2 separate regions of the Homo sapiens genome follow, and region 2 is linked to region 1. The links are contacts of gene promoters, found by promoter capture Hi-C in human tissues and cell types (Jung and others, 2019). All regions are on one chromosome and are shown on one strand. Each heading gives the region's core, a stretch centred on a gene start or on the middle of the fragment in contact. The rest is flanking DNA. Distances are from core to core; before and after follow the strand shown.

What was found. Contacts are between HindIII fragments. The study calls those that stand out against the background at their distance.
Region 2: a fragment that was not itself captured here is called in contact with the fragment with the promoter of ZNF662 in region 1 in 1 of the 25 tissues and cell types used here (spleen).

What each region holds. Positions count from the first base shown.
Region 1 is chr3:42,904,085-42,907,402 of GRCh38, forward strand. It overlaps ZNF662 (zinc finger protein 662), which reads left to right and starts at 2,058. Exons shown (of 5, transcript NM_207404.4): 1 at 2,058-2,084. The HindIII fragment of the contact is 13,922 bases long and covers 1-3,318 here.
Region 2 is chr3:44,185,042-44,188,702 of GRCh38, forward strand. No RefSeq gene overlaps it. Among named protein-coding and RNA genes, the nearest start is that of TOPAZ1, 55 kb to the right of the region's middle. The HindIII fragment of the contact is 3,523 bases long and covers 1-3,462 here.

The DNA of each region.
Region 1 (3,318 bases), core at 808-3,307:
TCCCTCCCTCCCCTCCTTCCTTCCTTCCCTCCTTCCTTCCTTCCTCCCTCCCTTTTCCTTCCTTCCTTCTTCCCTTCTCCTTCCTTCCTCTCTCCCTCCCTTCCCTCCTTCCTTCCCTCCTTCCTTCCTCCCTTCCTTTTCCTTCCTTCCTTCTTCCCTTCTCCTTCCTTCCTTTCTTTTTCTTTCTCTCTCTTTTTCTTTCTTTCTCTCTCTCTCTTTCCCTCCTTCCCTTCCTTCCTTCGTCTCTTCTTTCTTTCCCTCTCTCCCTCCCACTCTTTCTTTCTTTCCCTCCCTCCTTTCCTTCCTTCCTCTTTCCTTCTCTTCTCTTTTCTCTTCTTCTCTTTCTTCTTTCCAGGTTCTTGCTGGAGTGCAATGGTGCAATCACAGCTCACTGCAGCCTTGACTTCTCAGGCTCAAGTGATCCTCCCATCTCAGACTTCTGAGTAGCCAGGAGCTGGCTATTTTTCTTTATTTCTTTCTTTCTTTCTTTTTTTATTTTTGTAGAGATGGGGTAGCAATTTGATTAAAAACTATCAGATTCCCTACTTTTTCCCATACTACTTCCAACTTAGGACCAAACAGAGAAAGCCAAAAATTTCCCCCTACCAATTACATAAGATTCCCTGCTTCTAGTTAGCCCGCCTGTAGTTTCCCCATGCCAGCAACTTCCAATAAGGGAATACCTGAAGCCATTCCTTTTTTCCACTGTGAAGCTTTCCCCACTCTTCTGCCTGACTTTCAGTCTGCTGAATGCAAGTGATGAGGGCTGACTCTCTTGTCATATATAGCAAGCTCTGAATAATAGTCTTTGTTCTCATTTGAATAATCTTTATTTTCACACTTCTTAAAAAATTTAATTTCCTGGCATGTTGCATAATGTTAGGTAAGCCATTTTCTCTCTTTGGGCCTTACTTTCTTCAACTGAAAAACTGGTTCAACATTTATTCATTCTTTTATTCCGTAAGCCAAAAATAAAATTCAAAGCCCTCTGACCATATGAATGGATCTCTCCTCTTGGCTAAGGGCATTCCAAAGTTAACGTGAAAAACTGGTTCAGGCCATAATGGGAAGGAGGAGTTGGACATGGCTCATTATGCTCCCCTACCTTTTGAAATTCAGGACCAGCTGACCAGCATTAACATCAACACAGACCTTAAGACTGATAGAACAGCCTCTTTAAGTCTCACAGACTATCCGGTAGTGTGATAATGATGAGAAACATTTGCAGTCTATTCTCTGAAGCCTGCTACAGGCTCCATCTGCATGATAAAACTTTGGTCTCCACAAGCCCTTATCTTAACTGAGACATCCCTTTCTATTGATTCTAAGTCTTTATACAATAACTTAACTCTTTCAACCAATTGCCACTCAGAAAATCTTTGAATCCACCTATGTCCTGAAAGCCTCCTCTTCCAGTTGTCCCACCTTTCCATACCGAACCAACGTACATCTTACATGTATTAATTGATGTCTTATGTCTTCCTAAAATGTGTAAAACCAAGTTGTAGCCCGACCACGTTGGGCACATGTTCTCAGGATCTCCTGGGGCTGTGGCACGGGCCATGGTCACTCATATTTGGCTCAGGATAAATCCCTTCAAATATTTTACAGTTTGACTTTTCGTGGACAATTCTACAAATATTCCTTGGCAGTTAAAGAAATAACTCCCCAGGAGGTGCTAGACATCGGGCGCATGTTAGAGGCACAAAGATGAGAATGTTAAAAGACATAAAATACAGGTCTGCTCTGGGAATGCAAAAACTGGTAAAAGGAGAGATAAAAGAGCAGGTGCAGTCTAGTGAAGTACCCGCTACCTCCTATCAGCAAATATCTGTCCACCTAGGGTGCAGCGAGCTGGAGAGGAAGGGGTGGCCTAGAGCGCAGGGGAAGGATTCCTCCCCAGCCGCCTGCACCCCTACCCCGGTAGCGGTCCCTGGGATCGTCCGTGTCTCCAGGAGAACCGGACCGCTCTCCCCTCCCTCCCCGAGCGAGAAAGGAGGACCACAGAGATGCGGCGCCCTCCGCCGTCCTAGAGCAACCGGAGCGGCCCGAGCCCCGGCCTCCCGGATGCTGGGGCCTGGCGGGTGTGGAGCACGGGGAGTCGGGCGTGGGGCGGGCAGGGAGTGGAGTCGGGGTCTTACTCCGGTGGCTGCAGGGCGCAGGGTAGCCGTGTCAGGCCTGCCCAGGTGCAGAGCGCTCTTCCGCGACCCCAACAGCCTCTGGTCCGGTCTGGCGCGCCCTCGCTTTCCCAGAGGGCGACCTGGGCTATGGCGGCCGTGGCGCTGGCGAGCGGGACACGCCTCGGCCTTGTCCTCGAGCTGCTCCCGGGACAGCCCGCGCTGCCCCGGGCGCGCCGGGTGAGTGCGGGGCCGGAGCCTGGAAGCAGTCTTGGCCCTGCCCTGGGTTCTAGGCCCGGAGACGGGGTGGTGCGGCGGCTGGGAAATGGGGGTACAACCCAGAGTGAGGGGCCTCGAGGGACAGGCAGCACAGCGGAGTCGACACCCCTGGACCTGAGCCTCAAGGAGAGCAGACGTGCAGCGGCACGGGGTTGAGCCGACTGCTGGGGCAGAGCGCACAGAGTGCTGTCGGGGGCGATGAATGGCCAGAATTTCAGAGCTGCCTTTACAGAGCTGGTTATGTTTGAGCTGGGTATTAGGTTGAAAAGGAATTTGCAATGCAGGAGCAGGAAGGAAGAACTGGATATTCAGGCAAGAGTAGCCGCAGGTGCAAGGACACAGAACAGGGTGAGGAAAGAGTTTGGTTTCCCAATGCAATGGTGAGAGGATCGGAGATGAGAGTGGTGGTGGCTGATGATCCTGGCCAGGAAAGCTGGGTCTGTGAGTAGTGAATGGAATTGTCTGTAGTGCAGAGGAATGTGGACTCTATTAGGCAGACAAAGTTGAGCCAGCCAAAGCCTTGGAGCCCTGGAGTGCTGGATAAATAGCTGTGGAGACTTTCTAGTGCGCAAGGACTGAAGTGCAGTGGACCAGAATGGGCTCCTCCACAGTGTGGAGACTGAGACCCTGAAGGAGGCAGTGGCTGAGAATTACGGGAAGTCCCAACGGCTGGAGGTCAGCAGTATTTGTTTCTTAAGAGGATGAGAGAAAGAAGGTGCAGGAGCTGAGACTCCTAGAGATATAGAAAATGGGGACATGGAGATTGGGACGTGGGTAAGCAAGTGAGGTGGGATCTTTGTGAGAGTGTTGCGGGTGGTGGGGGTGCAGGGAGTAAAGTCACAACGAGGATCTGCCCTGTTGAGTACAGTGTTCAGAGCAACCTGAATGTTCTGAGGAGCCCTAGCTGCCTCTGTGGCTGGTG
Region 2 (3,661 bases), core at 451-2,950, 1.3 Mb after region 1:
AAAGACTCCACTCCACGGAGAGAACTCCCAGAGGTCTTGCAATTCTCTAATGATCCTGGGCAGCTTCTGGGGCAAAGGTCATCCCTGGAGAATCCAGAAATTCTGTATTCTGGATGCCAAGGCCTAAACCTGGACTTGCTGACTATGACTTCAGGCATGCTGCTCAGCTTACTGAGTCTTCAGATCACAGGTTCTGCAAAAGGGTGACTGGGAAGCATGGGAAATCAAAGGTGGGCTTACATCTTCTCCTGCGAGTGTTCTCAAAAGTGAGCTTCAGGAGTCCCGTTCAGCCCCATAGTGCAGAATGGATTGGGAGACCTCATTTTGATGGAGCCCATGGAAATGCCAATCTCTTGGCAAACCAGAACCCGACCATTTCCTTTCACCTGCGCAGTCACACCCTAGCCTCCTGTGAACTCCCTGGTCTCATCTCCTACTACTTTCTCTCTTGTTTACTTTGCCCCCTCCTACACCCTTGCCCCAGGGCTTTTGTACTTGCTTCCCTAAATCAGATAAATATTGGAGAGTAAATTGAACTTCTAGCAGAAAATTTCTAGATGAAATTAGCTGACAGGGCCAATTGCTTTTTAATGCCCTTTCTAGTTTTTATTACGTAGATGACATGGTTTTCACTTCCTTCTCTTTGTATCCAGTTTAGCCCAATGTAAGGCAATCATTATATTGAAAGGGGCAGCATCCAGGACAATCAGCCTGTAAGAGGCAAGGTGACTACACAAGAAACTAGAGCAAGGGGCTCAGACTCAGGTCTAGCAGGTAGAAGAGCAAAGCAGGCAGGTGCAGACAGTGCCAAGCTGGAGACAGCGGGACCCACCTAAGGAAGGTGGCTGCTGCAGCACCAGCCAACTATTGTTCCATGGGAATGTGGGTCTGTTGTTCCTAGATATGACTTTTCAGTGCAAACCAGAAGCCCAAGTTTATGTGAAATGCCCGTTGTTAAATGCTGACAATGAATTCAAATTAAAAACAAGAAGTTTCATGGGTCAAACTATATCTTCAGGACAGATTCAGCAAATAGGCTGTCAATTTGTGATCTCTGAATTGATGCTGAGCAGGTTAAAGAGAATAAGCAATGAGGGAAAGGGAGTTCTATAAAATGCTGGATGAGGAATGATGATCTCTGGAGCTTGAGGTCAGGGAATAAAGGTGTCAGAAAGGAGACAAGTCTCAAGATCAAGAGAGGGACTGAAGCACATGACTCAGAGCTGCAGGCAGGTGTGTATATGCCTGCCAAACCTGGGGCCAGCACAGCAAAGGCGTGATGGTGAGACTCCAGGCAATGTGCAGTCCAGCCACCTGAAGGACAGAAAGCACACTGGCATGGCAGGATATTTCATCTTCTTTTCTTCCTGTGTTTTGGCCTTTCAAGAACGTAGGCAGTCCTGTGTTCATTGCCTCAAGACAGAAGTCACAGTAACCTAGGACTCTACAGGGCTTGTTTCTAAAGTTTAAATCCCCTGGGGTCAGGGTAGAATTCTCAAGAAAGACATTTTGGTCAGAAAAATGAAGGAAATAGCCTAAAAAGAGTTTTTCTGGGATGTGGAAGTAAAAACAAGCAAAGATGGCTGGGGGTCCCATGGTGGAGGCAACCTGTTTCCCATTTCCCAGGAAAAACCACCTGAGAAGCAGCCAGACCTCAGAAAGGAAAGGGCTGTGGAACATCCAGGCAGATGAGATACTACATGGCTGTGCTGATAAATTCCCAGCTACAGCCTGAAAGCAGAAGAAAGCCCCCAGGACACTAGATATCACAGTAGGAAAATGGGTTAACAAATGCTCATAGCCAGGGAGAGCCCTCCCAATACCTTGGCTCCCCCAAGAAAAAGGGAAGTTACAGTTTCCTAAAGCCCAGTGGCGGGAAGGCTCAAAATGAAAGCTGTTTCATTTTTATACACCTGGGTTTGTAGACTGAGATTCACACTGGCTACTTTAGAGAGCCACCAAAGATGAAGACAGGTCAACAGCAGTGTCTGAATTTGATTCTAAGCTCTTCTTCCAATGGCCACTGTGGATGGCAGTCTCTACGATGGTCCCCAACAATCCCCACCTCCTGGTATTCACACCCTTGCAAAATCCCCTCCCACACTGTACCAGGATTGGCCTGTGTCTGACAGCATATGGCAGAAGGGACTAGGTTATAAAAAGACTGGCTTCTGTCCCTCACTCTTTTTCTTGAATCAATTCCTCTGGGAGAAGCAAGCTTCCATGTAGTCAACAGCTCTGGATAGGCTCCAGTGGTAAAGAACCGAAGCCTCCAGACAACAACAAGTGAGGAGTTGAGGCCTGCAGTCCAACCGCCTGCAAGTAACTGAGGCCTAGCTAATGCCGAGGTGAGTGAACTCGGAAGCAGACTCCATTCTCACTTCAGGCTTTAGATGAGTACAGTGCCAGGTGACAGTGTGGCTGCAGGCTCATGAAAATCTCTGAGCCAGAGCCCAATGGCTAAGCCACTCCCAGATTCCTGACCCACAAAAGCTCTGTGAGATAATAAATGTTTGATGTTTTAAGCTGCTATGGGGTAATTTATAACATAGCAATAGAAAATGAATTCACCCCCACATCAACATATGAAGGCGATACTGAACCTAGTAAATTAAGAATTAGATGACTGGTCAGGAGCAAAGTACAGAAGCTTTGCCCTTTTTCTGTCAAATGATGCCACCAACCCTTTGCCGGAGGAACTGATTCAGGAGACAGGAGTCAAGTGAATAGTCAGAGGTGCTGAGCCACACTCCGTACTAGGCACTCCTAGGCATTACAGAACAAACTTTGCACAGAAATCATATGTCAGAAGAGGGAGTTCTGCCATCACAGCTTACAGCAGCTGAGAAGCTAAGAGTTCCCAGGTAATCTGGCAGCTTCAAGCCAAAGCCCTACCCACAGGCTGGGCAGCACAGGAATTTGAGTTGGGTGATGTAAGGTAAAAGCTAATCTTCAAAACTAGCAAACCTTTGCAAGCTACTTCTTTCCTCACTCTTTTTCCCCCCACAGAAGGGGAACATTTGCTGTTTTTTTTAGAGCCTAGAGCCTTAGCATCTGCCCCCTTGTCATTTAAGAATTGAGTATCTTGGTGCTGATTTTCAAAGTAGCTGTTAATCACTTAGCTCCACATTCACTATGAGGACAAGCCAGAAATCATTATAAACTGGAGTGTTGGGTTAACCCAAAGTGCTTCATCTCTACCTACCTACCATTGTTATCTGTGGTCTACAAAAGCTATGGGTGTAACCCAGAGACCCTAGAGACCAGGAGAAAAGCTAGGGTGGGAAAGCCTGGAATCCAGCCCTCTTTAGAGAGATCTCTATGGTCTTGCTTTCAGTACCTAAAGTCTTTCCCCATGCAGACACATATGTCTTGGGAGCCATCCCATGGGAAGAGTCTTCCAGAATGACCCCAGTGTCTTCCCTAAAGCATAGGTGGTAGGTACCCCCACCACTACTAAATATTTCCATTAGAAAAGTTTATAATCCTAAACAAATTCACTTTGGATCCTGAGACCTAAAAAGACTTCTCTACAATAGCACAGGGCTTTCTCTTAAGAATTCACAGCATCTTCACCCTGATGATTCATTTTAACCTGTGGCAAGGCATCCATTTACCAAAGACTGAGTTTGCTTTCTTTTGTTGTTTTGTTTTTTTGAGA